2 separate regions of the Homo sapiens genome follow, and region 1 is linked to region 2. Evidence: promoter capture Hi-C in human tissues and cell types (Jung and others, 2019). All regions are on one chromosome and are shown on one strand. The core of a region is centred on a gene start or on the middle of the fragment in contact, and the rest is flanking DNA. Distances in the headings are between cores, read along the strand shown. Region 1 holds the start of TMEM63C (transmembrane protein 63C). Region 2 holds the start of ZDHHC22 (zDHHC palmitoyltransferase 22).

What was found. The method cuts DNA at HindIII sites, captures the fragments that hold promoters and counts their contacts. A contact is called where the count stands out against the background at its distance.
Region 1: a fragment that was not itself captured here is called in contact with the fragment with the promoter of ZDHHC22 in region 2 in 1 of the 25 tissues and cell types used here (dorsolateral prefrontal cortex).

Annotation. Positions count from the first base shown.
Region 1 is chr14:77,177,779-77,182,503 of GRCh38, forward strand. It overlaps TMEM63C (transmembrane protein 63C), which reads left to right and starts at 4,020. Exons shown (of 24, transcript NM_020431.4): 1 at 4,020-4,116. RefSeq lists an enhancer at 4,341-4,470. The HindIII fragment of the contact is 3,287 bases long and covers 1-3,043 here.
Region 2 is chr14:77,139,159-77,143,813 of GRCh38, forward strand. ZDHHC22 (zDHHC palmitoyltransferase 22) reads right to left here and starts at 2,633. Exons shown (of 3, transcript NM_174976.2): 1 at 2,445-2,633; 2 at 55-594. The coding sequence starts at 580. RefSeq lists enhancers at 337-886, 1,024-1,587, 1,588-2,151, 2,246-2,747. The HindIII fragment of the contact is 26,670 bases long and covers 1-4,655 here.

The DNA of each region.
Region 1 (4,725 bases), core at 150-2,649, 37 kb after region 2:
ATTGGTTCAGCTGCTGCAACAGAGACCAGACAATAGTGACTTTACAAGGTTATTGCTCTCCCGTGAGAAAAATGCAAGGTGGTCAACATTGTAGGGCACTTCTCCAGGTCATCTTGTGACTCAAGTTCTTCCTGCCTTGATGCTTGACTGTCTCTAGGGAGTTGTCCTGGTCAGCATCATCAAAGCTGCCCTCCCCTCCACCCCATGTCCACATCCCAGTCTTCACAAAGAGGAAAGAGGAAGTAGAGAACAGCCAGCTTCCTTTTAAGTATGTGGCCCAGAAATTAAACCTATTACTTCCACTCATATCTCACTGGCTAGGACTTAGTTCATACTTCCACCTGGCTTCGAGGGGTTCTGGGATATGTGGTCTATAGTAGGAGAGCCATAAATCCAGGTTTTAATCTTGGGAGCTCTACTGCAAAAAGGAAGAGGGAAAGAAAAGGGGCTCTTAGCAGTCTCTGCCACACTGGATCTATTGAAATTTTGTGTGGAGTAAATAAAGGTGGGCACCAATTGAAGACACAAGGTGATCTGCAGAAAAAGCCCCTCCCCTCCCCTCCTCTTCCCTCACCTCCCCTCCCCTCCTCTTCCCTCCCCTCCTCTTCCCTCCCCTCCTCTTCCCTCCCCTCCTCTTCCTTCCCCTCCCCTCCTCTTCCCTCCCCTGCCCTCCCCTCCCCTCCTCTCCTCTCCTTTCTGATGTAGATCTCTCTATATTGCCCAGGCTGGTCTCAACCTCCTGGCCTCGAGAAATCCTCCTGCCTCAGCCTCCCAAGTAGCTGGGATTACAGGTGTGAGCCACCACACTTGGCTTCCATCCCCCTTTTCTGTACCTCTCTCTCTGTCTATTTTTTTTTTCTTTTGAGACGGAGTCTCGCTCTGTCGCCCAGGCTGGAGTGCAGTGGTGCCATCTCAGCTCACTGTAAGGGTTACTCAGAGTCCTTTTGTTTCTTTTATATTGTTCTGGATTATGTTCCCAGACCAGACATTGGAGGTTAACAACGCGGTCATGAAGACAATAACAGGCATAATCTTTCAGATTTGACAACTCAGGCCAAAGGCACTCCCACCCCAATCCACAAGTGAGAGCATGATAAGTGTTTTCAGTGTCACAGACCAGAAGGGCCTTTCTTTTGAAAGCCTCAGTTATTCATACCCATACACCTTTACTGAGAACCTTCTACAAGCTGACACTCATCTAGGTGGTTGGTTGGGACATTGGGGTCATCTCTTTCCCCACCACACAGCCCACCTGGCATCTCCATGGGTTCTCCTCCTTCCATGGGTTCTCCTCCCTTCCTTCCCTTCCCTCCCTCCCTCCCTCCCTTCCTTCCCTTCCCCTTCCTTCCTTCTTTCCTTCCTTCCTTCCTTCCTTTCTTTCTTTTTCTTTCTTTCTTTCTTTCTTTCTTTCTTTCTTTCTTTCTTTCTTTCTTTCTTTCTTTCTTTCTTTTTCTTTCTTTCTCCTCTCCTCTCTTCCCCTCCCCTCCCCTCCCCTTCCCTCTCCTGCCCTCCCCTCCCCTCCTCTCCTCTCCGATGTAGGTCTCTCTATATTGCCCAGGCTTGTCTCAACCTCCTGGCCTCAAGAAGTCCTCCTGCCTCAGCCTCCCAGGTAGCTGGGATTACAGGTGTGAGCTACCACACCTGGCTTCCGTCCCCCTTTACTGTATCTTTCTTTTTTTTTCAAGACGGAGTCTCACTCTGTCGCCCAGCTGGAGTGCAGTGGTATGATCTCAGCTCACTGCAACCTCCGTCTCCTGGGTTCAAGTGATTCTCCTGCCTCAGCCTCCCAAGTAGCTGGGATTGCAGGTGCCCGCCACCACCCCCGACTAATTTTTGTATTTTTGGTTGAGACTGGGTTTCATCACATTGGCCAGGCTGGTCTCGAACTCCCAACCTCAAGTCATCTGCCCGCCTCAGCCTCCCAAACTGTTAGGATTATAGGCGTGAGCCACCACACCTGGCCTCTCTTTACGGCATGACCTTGATGCTTATCAGGTTTCTCCTCTAGGAGGTGGAGTGGGTTGGATATGGGCTTACAACAGCTTCTGTGATGATGAAGCAGAGAAGGAAAAGACGAACTGCTTTTGTTGAGAATTTATGCTGTCCCACCAGACTGTGAATAGCATAACTACAGCAACAACAATGAATATTTGCAGAGCATTTATTTTGTACATGGTATTTCATTTAATCCTCACAATCACCCTTTAAGCTTATGATTATTGTTTTCCCCCATTTTCCATATGCCAAAAAAAAAAAAAAGCACAGAGAGGTTAAGTCCCACATTTAGGTGGCCCAGCTGGGACTGAAATGCAGGCAGCTAGCGTTCCCAGCACTATTCTTGTATTGATCTGATTTGTCTTTGTACCCGCCAGCCTTTATCCTAGAAGAGAATAAAGGTGTCAGAGCAGAGGGGTGTGAGACCTCAACTAGCCCAGCCCTCTCAGAATTACAGATGAGAGGGAAAAACAAAGAGAGATCAAGTGAGCTACCCAAGGTTGCACAGCATGATAGCCGCTAAGCAAGGGCTGGAACCTAGACCCTGATGCCCTGTTGCCACTGCAGAATACGTGTTCAAAAGTCTTCCCGTCCCGTGAATGAAAAAGATAATGAGTGGGCCGGCGCGGTGGCTCACGCCTGTAATCCCAGCACTTTGGGAGGCTGAGGCGGGCGAATCACGAGGTCAGGAGATCGAGACAATTCTGGCTAACGCGGTGAAACCCCGTCTCTACTAAAAAATACAAAAAAAAAAAATTATCCGGGCGTGGTGGCGGGAGCTTGTAGTCCCAGCTACTCGGGAGGCTGAGGCAGGAGAATGGCGTGAACCTGGGAGGCGGAGCTTGCAGTGAGCCGAGATCACACCACTGCACTCCAGCCTGGGCGAGTGAGTGGATAATGGATAGACTTCGACAGAGTCTGTCTATGTGGCTCACCCTTGGGTCTTCGTGGGGTGGTTGGGTCATGAGAACCAGGGGGTCAGGGGAAGAGGGAGATGACTAGAGTGCGCCAGCCTGATACGGTTGTGTGGAAGGGGGTGCTGTGCTGCTGGTTATGGGGAAATCAACCCATGAAAGCATAACCAGCCTTTGACCCCCTCCTCTGGCACCTCATGACCTTGTGTTCACAGGGCTTCCTCTATGGCATTCTTATCATATTGTTAACAGCCCTAACTGGTGAAAGGGAGTCACTTTCAGAGAGCATTGGGCAGTGGCTTCTTTCCCATCAGCTATTGTACTGCAAGTGCCAGATAATGTCGATGACATAAATGTGCCTAGGCCCCTGCCTGGGAGGGAGAGGCTGTTTACTACTGCCCCTTGTTTTGCACACTGGTCTTTGGGGGTTGCAAACACTGGCACCTGTCCTCGGGGTCAAAACCAGTGTCTATAGCAGAGTGGGCAGGACTTTGATGAAACTCTGATACCTGCAGGATTGTGGCCCACCGCAAACCGGAAATGACCCAGCTCACTCCCTTGGCCCTCCCTGGTGGGGCTGTGGCCAATTGTAGATCACTCCTTTGCTGTAGAAGGAGTCTGGGTAGCAGCTGGGTACCAGCCACTAGGCTGGTGCCAGGACCTGGTCCTTGGGCGGGGCAGAGGGCTATCTTTGTGGGAGTGGAGTGGCTTTTCTTGCTTCTGGCTGATGGGACTAAGGAGACTGGGAAAGGCGACATGCCTCAGGGAGGGCGAGGGGAGGTGGCAAAGGAGCTGCCAAGGCCCAATGCATCAGGGCAGCTGGAGCAAGCTGGAACCAGGGACCGGCAGCCTTGTGTGTTTGAGATAGTAATTTGCAGATGGTTCCTGGTAGCGACAGGGTCTCTGAGGCGGAGCCTGGGTCTTCGCGTAGGATCTGCCAGCCTGGGTTCCCCGGCAGGTCAGAGAAGCTTTGGGGCGGGGCCAAGGTTGGCCCCTGCTTGGGAGGAGCCGGGATGCCTCTCTCACAGTGATGCAGAGAGGAATTTGCTGACAGTCCCTTGCCAGGTGGGGCTGGCTTCGCCCAGCCGGCGAGGAGGAGGACCCGCTGGCAGTCTCCTCCCAGGTGGGGAGCGTGGAGCCTGTCACTGCAGCCTGGCGGCCTGAGCGCCGAGCCTGGGGCTGGGGCCGCGGTGCTGAGGACGCAAATGTGGTGAGCACGCGATGCGGGTGCGGTGACCGGGGCTGGTCGGGCCGGGAAGAAGGGGCGCCGGATCCAGGTCCCGCACGGGGAGGGGGCGGGGAAGGATTGCTTGTTTCTGTGCTTTCTGAGACCTTGCATTGGGAGGGATGGGGGTAGGGGAGACTGCGCCACAGTCCCTTGCCACGCTGGCTGTCTCTAGCTTGTACCCAGGAAAGGGTGGCCTGAGCCGCCCACCCGGGAGGGCGTGGCTTTAGTAGACCGGTCTTCACTGGGTTGGGGGAACGGAGGTGGGTAGGAGGTTTGCTTGGGGGGTCCCCGGCCTCCTGCCTGACAGCCAGGTGGGAGTTACCGCTCGGGGCTACCCTCTCCCCCACCCAGGGATTCCCCGGGGCTCTGCCGCCCACTCTCTGGGCTGGGACGGGAGGGGGCAGTCTGCTCCGCCGTTATGGGTTATGACAACGTCACTGCTGCGCTGCTGCCTGGCGGGCTGGGCTCCTGGGCCCCCAGGGGAACAATGCCACCCTTTCCCCATGTGCTTCCAAAGAAAGGCTCTTGCCTCCCTACTCGCCCTGGCCTTGAGAGAGGAACGTTGTGTTTGGATGAAGGCCCTGGGGA
Region 2 (4,655 bases), core at 1,383-3,882:
TTGGGGTGGGAGGTCTTTGTGTAGAGCCCAACCTGCCCGCCAAGGCCCACTCACCGGAGAAGAACTGGCTGATGGAGGTGGGCAGGAGCGTGAGGAAGGCCAAGGGGTGGGCGAAGGAGATGGAAAGGACAGCGGAGATGTAGGCCACGCCGGCCACCATGGAGTAGAGGCAGGCCAGGGAGGTGTAGAGGCAGAACAGGACGAAGTTGCGCATGTTCCTGCTGCCGATGCAGTTGCCGGTGAAGAAACAGTGATGGTCGTGCCTCAGGGTGACTCTGGCGCACACTCGGCAGAAGTGGGTGCTAGGTGAGGGGCATGGAGTCTTCCTGGCCGAGGCCCCCTGGCAGGCCCCCAGGTCGTCTGGGGAGTTCTGGATGACAAGGACGTAATTGCCCAGGGCGTTGGCCGAGAGGAATAGGAAGAGCGCCCCGTGGAGCAGGGCGGGCGAGAAGAGCCGGGCGGCCGCGGGGTCCTCGCGCATGCTGGGCAGGAAGAGGAAGAGCTGCAGCACGAAGGTCACCAGGGAGATGCACAAGAAGTAGGCGGGGGCCACCACGTTGAGCAGCCGCAGGGCCAGCATCCTCGATTACATTCCTGCGGGGCCCGGGGTGAGAAGAGGACTGACTGACTACGGCGTCCAGGGGGCGCCCTCGCCCGCTCCTCCGTGCCGCGCGTCTGGGGCACTGCACGCGACTCCACGCCCCCAACCCCCTGTCCCGCGGATTTCCCCTCCCCAGTTCCCTAACCCCGGATCAGGCAGGCCAGAGACCCGAGCCCGCAGCGGCCTCGGGTCTAGGCCCCACCTGGGGGTGAGTGTTGCCTGGGGTTTTGAGCGAGCTCGGCGCCTTGGCGCGGCAGAGTCTGGCACAGGAGGGAGGGACTCGTTTGCAGTCTTTAGGAGTTGTGAGGGTGGGGGGCACCGGGGGATAGGACTCCTCCCCTCTGTGGATGTGGAAACAAGCCCAGGTTTGGGATTTCTGGTTCAGACCTCCCTAGGAGGAGAAAGGGAAGGATTTGGGGTCGGGGGCAGGAGAATCAGCGGCACTTGACCTGCTGGAAATCCTGCTTCACACTCCCCTTTCTCCGTCCCTGCGTCCCCACCCACACACACATCTTGGGCAGCACTCAGGGACCTCACCAGGTTACCCAAGGCTCTTTGGAGGTATGTGTGCGTGAGGGACCACGATGTGTGTGTGTGTGTCCTTGTCTGTGACTCTGTACGTGTAATCTGTGTGCGCTTGAGTATCTGTATTTGTGTATGTATATATCTGCGTGTACAGACACGCAGCCTCTGCTATCTAGCTTTAAAAAAATCAATTGAAACAATCGATACACTCACACTCGCTCTCGGGCACCGGGTGAGGTGGGGGCGCAACCAGAATACCTGTGTCAGCGGGTCCTGGCCAGCACATCTCTCCAACGCTGGCTGCCCGGGCTATTTCTTTGCGAAGAGCGTTTTCATTTGAGGCGAAATTAAAATCCCCCCTTCGCGCCCGCCTCCCGCCCTCCTGCTGAGAGAAACCCAAACAACCCTCATGGCGCCGAAATCCTTTCCATGCCGACAAGCCCGCCCTGGGCGCACGAGTGGATGCTTGGCCAGCCTTTCCTGGGATCGACCCCGCCGCCGTGCTCAGCCCTCACCACGTCCCCATCCCACCCCACGCCTCACAGCCGGGGTTCCTGGCCAGCTTCGGAAGCCACCGAGAAATAGGATTCCGTGCGCCCGAGAGAACTTTTCCAGGGGCTAAGGAATCGGCCAGCCGGAGGCGCGAGAAAAGTTCTGGGAAGGCGGTTGCACCTAGGATGGGTGGATGCCACGGGGCCTCCGTCCAGGCTGTCCCGTCCGCACGGGTCGACTGGTCACCTTGGAATCCCCTTTGCAGGTCCCAGCGCCCCCCGGGAACCCGCAGCCTCCGCGGAGAGCGTGGGCCTCTCCCTACCGCTGGGGCGCAGCGCAGTGCACGCCTGAGGGTGGTCGCCGGGGGCTGGGCACGCCCCCAGTCCTGCGCCGCCGGGGGCTGCGGCGGTGCTGCCCACCCCAGAGAGCCCTCGGCCTGGGGCTCCGGCGAAGCAAGTGCCTTCCCGGCGCCGGTCGCCAGGGGGGCGCGGGAGCAGCCAGATGCGCCGCAGCGCTGGGAAGGCGGCGAAGGACAGGGGCTAGGGGAGTGAGGGGCGCTCGGCAGGCAGCCTCAGCCCTGGCCCTGCGCGGGAGAAGGGACAGCAGAGACCGCCCGTGGGGCCCCGGGGTGTAGGGAGCTGTCCGTTCAGCCCTGGCGCCCGCCTCGCCCGCGGCAGAGGGCGGCACAGCCGGAGCCTTGGAAAGACCGGCAGCGCCGGCAGCCGCGGGCTTCTCGGCCACTGCCTCCCGGACGCACGGGAAGCCGCCCCCCGCGCCGCCGCCGCCGCACTGCCGCCGTCGCAGAGGGGTGAGGAAATCAACTCACCGAGCTCTGGTCGCCGACAAGAGGAGCCCCGGACGCCGGCTCTCGCCCTGCCCGAGGCTGCAAAGTTGTGGACTCGGCCCGGCTGGCTCGCAGCCTGCGCTTCGCTTCGGGAACTGGGCAAGTAGCGGGGATGTGGGGAGGAGGGAGCGGGCAGCTGCTGGCTTCCCACTTGGGCGCCAGCGAGTAAGGGCCAGGAAGCGGCGGGGATGGCAGCTGGGCACCCCCCAGCCCCGCCACCCCTCCCTCCGCTCCTGGGGGCGGTGCTCTGGCCGCCAGTCTCAGCATCGTGGACTTGCCCCCTCCTCCCCTCTCGATTCCCCTTGAGCGGGCTGGGGCGCCCTGCCTGGTTTCAGCGCCCGTTCCAGCTGGGAGATTGGGATTCAGCCCTGATGTGGATTCTCCAGCCATCATCCTGCCCTTCCCTCTCGGCTAGGTCCCACGACCTTCCCTGCTCTCCACTCGGACTGAAGGAACCCTGGGGGCTTGAGAGGTCAGCTTGCCAGGGCAACACCCATGAAGATCAGCGTCATCTCCTCGGAAGGGCTGTGTACAGAGGGTTGGGAGTTGGGACTCTGGAGCCTGTCTACCTGGGTTTGAATATTCACCATTCACTACTGTGAGATCTCAGATTCCAGTTTCTTCGTCTGTAAATTCCAGTGTGATCTTAGATTCCAGTTTCCTCATCTGTGAAATAGAGATATGAGGGTTAAATGACAATCTATGTAAAACCCTTAAACAGGGCCTGCCCAGGGCAAGCACTGCTTGATTAGATCATAATTAGACACTACTTATCGGGCCCCTACTAGGTAGCAGGCATTGTGCTAAGCCTTTAGCATAAGATGCTTCCTTAATCCTCTCAGCCTGATCTGTGAAGCTGGCTGAGCCCCATTCTGGAGATGAGGAGGTTGAAGCTCAGAGAAGCTAAGTCTCATGTCTAAGGTCATACAGCCATTAAGTGACAGAGCCTGGACTTGAACCTGGTTCTAGCATTAATGCTCCTGCACTCAGCCTCTACACAGCCCAGCATCACCCTGGGACCCACGGGCAGCTCTGATTTGAGAGAAGGAAAGACAATGGGAGTTTATCCAGACACAGAGCTTGAACTTGGAGCTTCTTCTTTGAGCCTCACCCCCACCTTCTTATTTCTATTTCCTTCCCCTTCCAGGGCTCCGCTATTCTAAGGTGGGTACTGTGATGCGCCAAGAGGGTAGTGACACCAATGTGTATCAAACAGTGGGGGGTGGGGGGAGCAGAGCCTTAAAAACATCAAACACTGCAGGAATATTGGTGCCATCACCATCCTCAATTTCCTGGGTGTCGCAGCTCACCTACCTGCCCTGTTCCTCTCCTCTCGGTGATGGCATACTTAATAAATAAACATTTATTGCTTTCTCAACTGGCTGATTAAAACAAGAGCAATCCCTTGAAATGAGGGCCATATGCTGATCAGCTCAGCCTCTATTCTTGAATAACCACACACTGTTTCCTCTGTAATTTATCAGCATACATCAAAATAAAAAAGAGGCCAGGAAACCTTTTCACATTCTAAAAGGATCTGACATGTAAGTGAAAGAACAGTATATGCCACATGGTGGCCGTGAGCAGCTGGTAGCCTTGTGAGTTCCAGTGGCCACAGGACAGACATGGGGAGGCACACATGGCCCTTTTCCCTTCAGAGCAGCTTTGTCTCATAATCGTGGCCGTCTGGGCCCCTTTTCACAAGCTCTGTCTGCCTCTCACATGGGCTTGGCAGGGAGGGAGGCTGGCTGGGGTGCTTGGGTTTGGGTATACTGACTGAAGATCTCCATTCCCCAAATACCTTGTGAGTCGGGTGGTATTTCTAATTTTATTTTGCATATGGGTGTGAGGTGGGAAGGTGTGTGTCTGAATCTGTGTGTATGAGGAAAGGGAAAGAGAGAAAGAAGCTAAGCGAACGTGGGAAGATGTTAGTGGGGGAAGGGAGTATTCAGTCAGGAAAAGGAGATCTGGTCGTGGAAACACAAATGGACAAGGACGATTATTTATTTAGAAATATCGTTTATCAACAGAAAAGGACATTACAGCTTCAGATCTAAAGCTAGTGGTTCCTCAGCTCCCCTTAAGGAATGGAGTGAAGGGAAGCACGGCAAATGTCATTTTGTTTTTCTAAAACTTATGCTTATCCCTGACAAAATCAATAGGGAGGCAAAATCAATATGAAAACTTCACTTG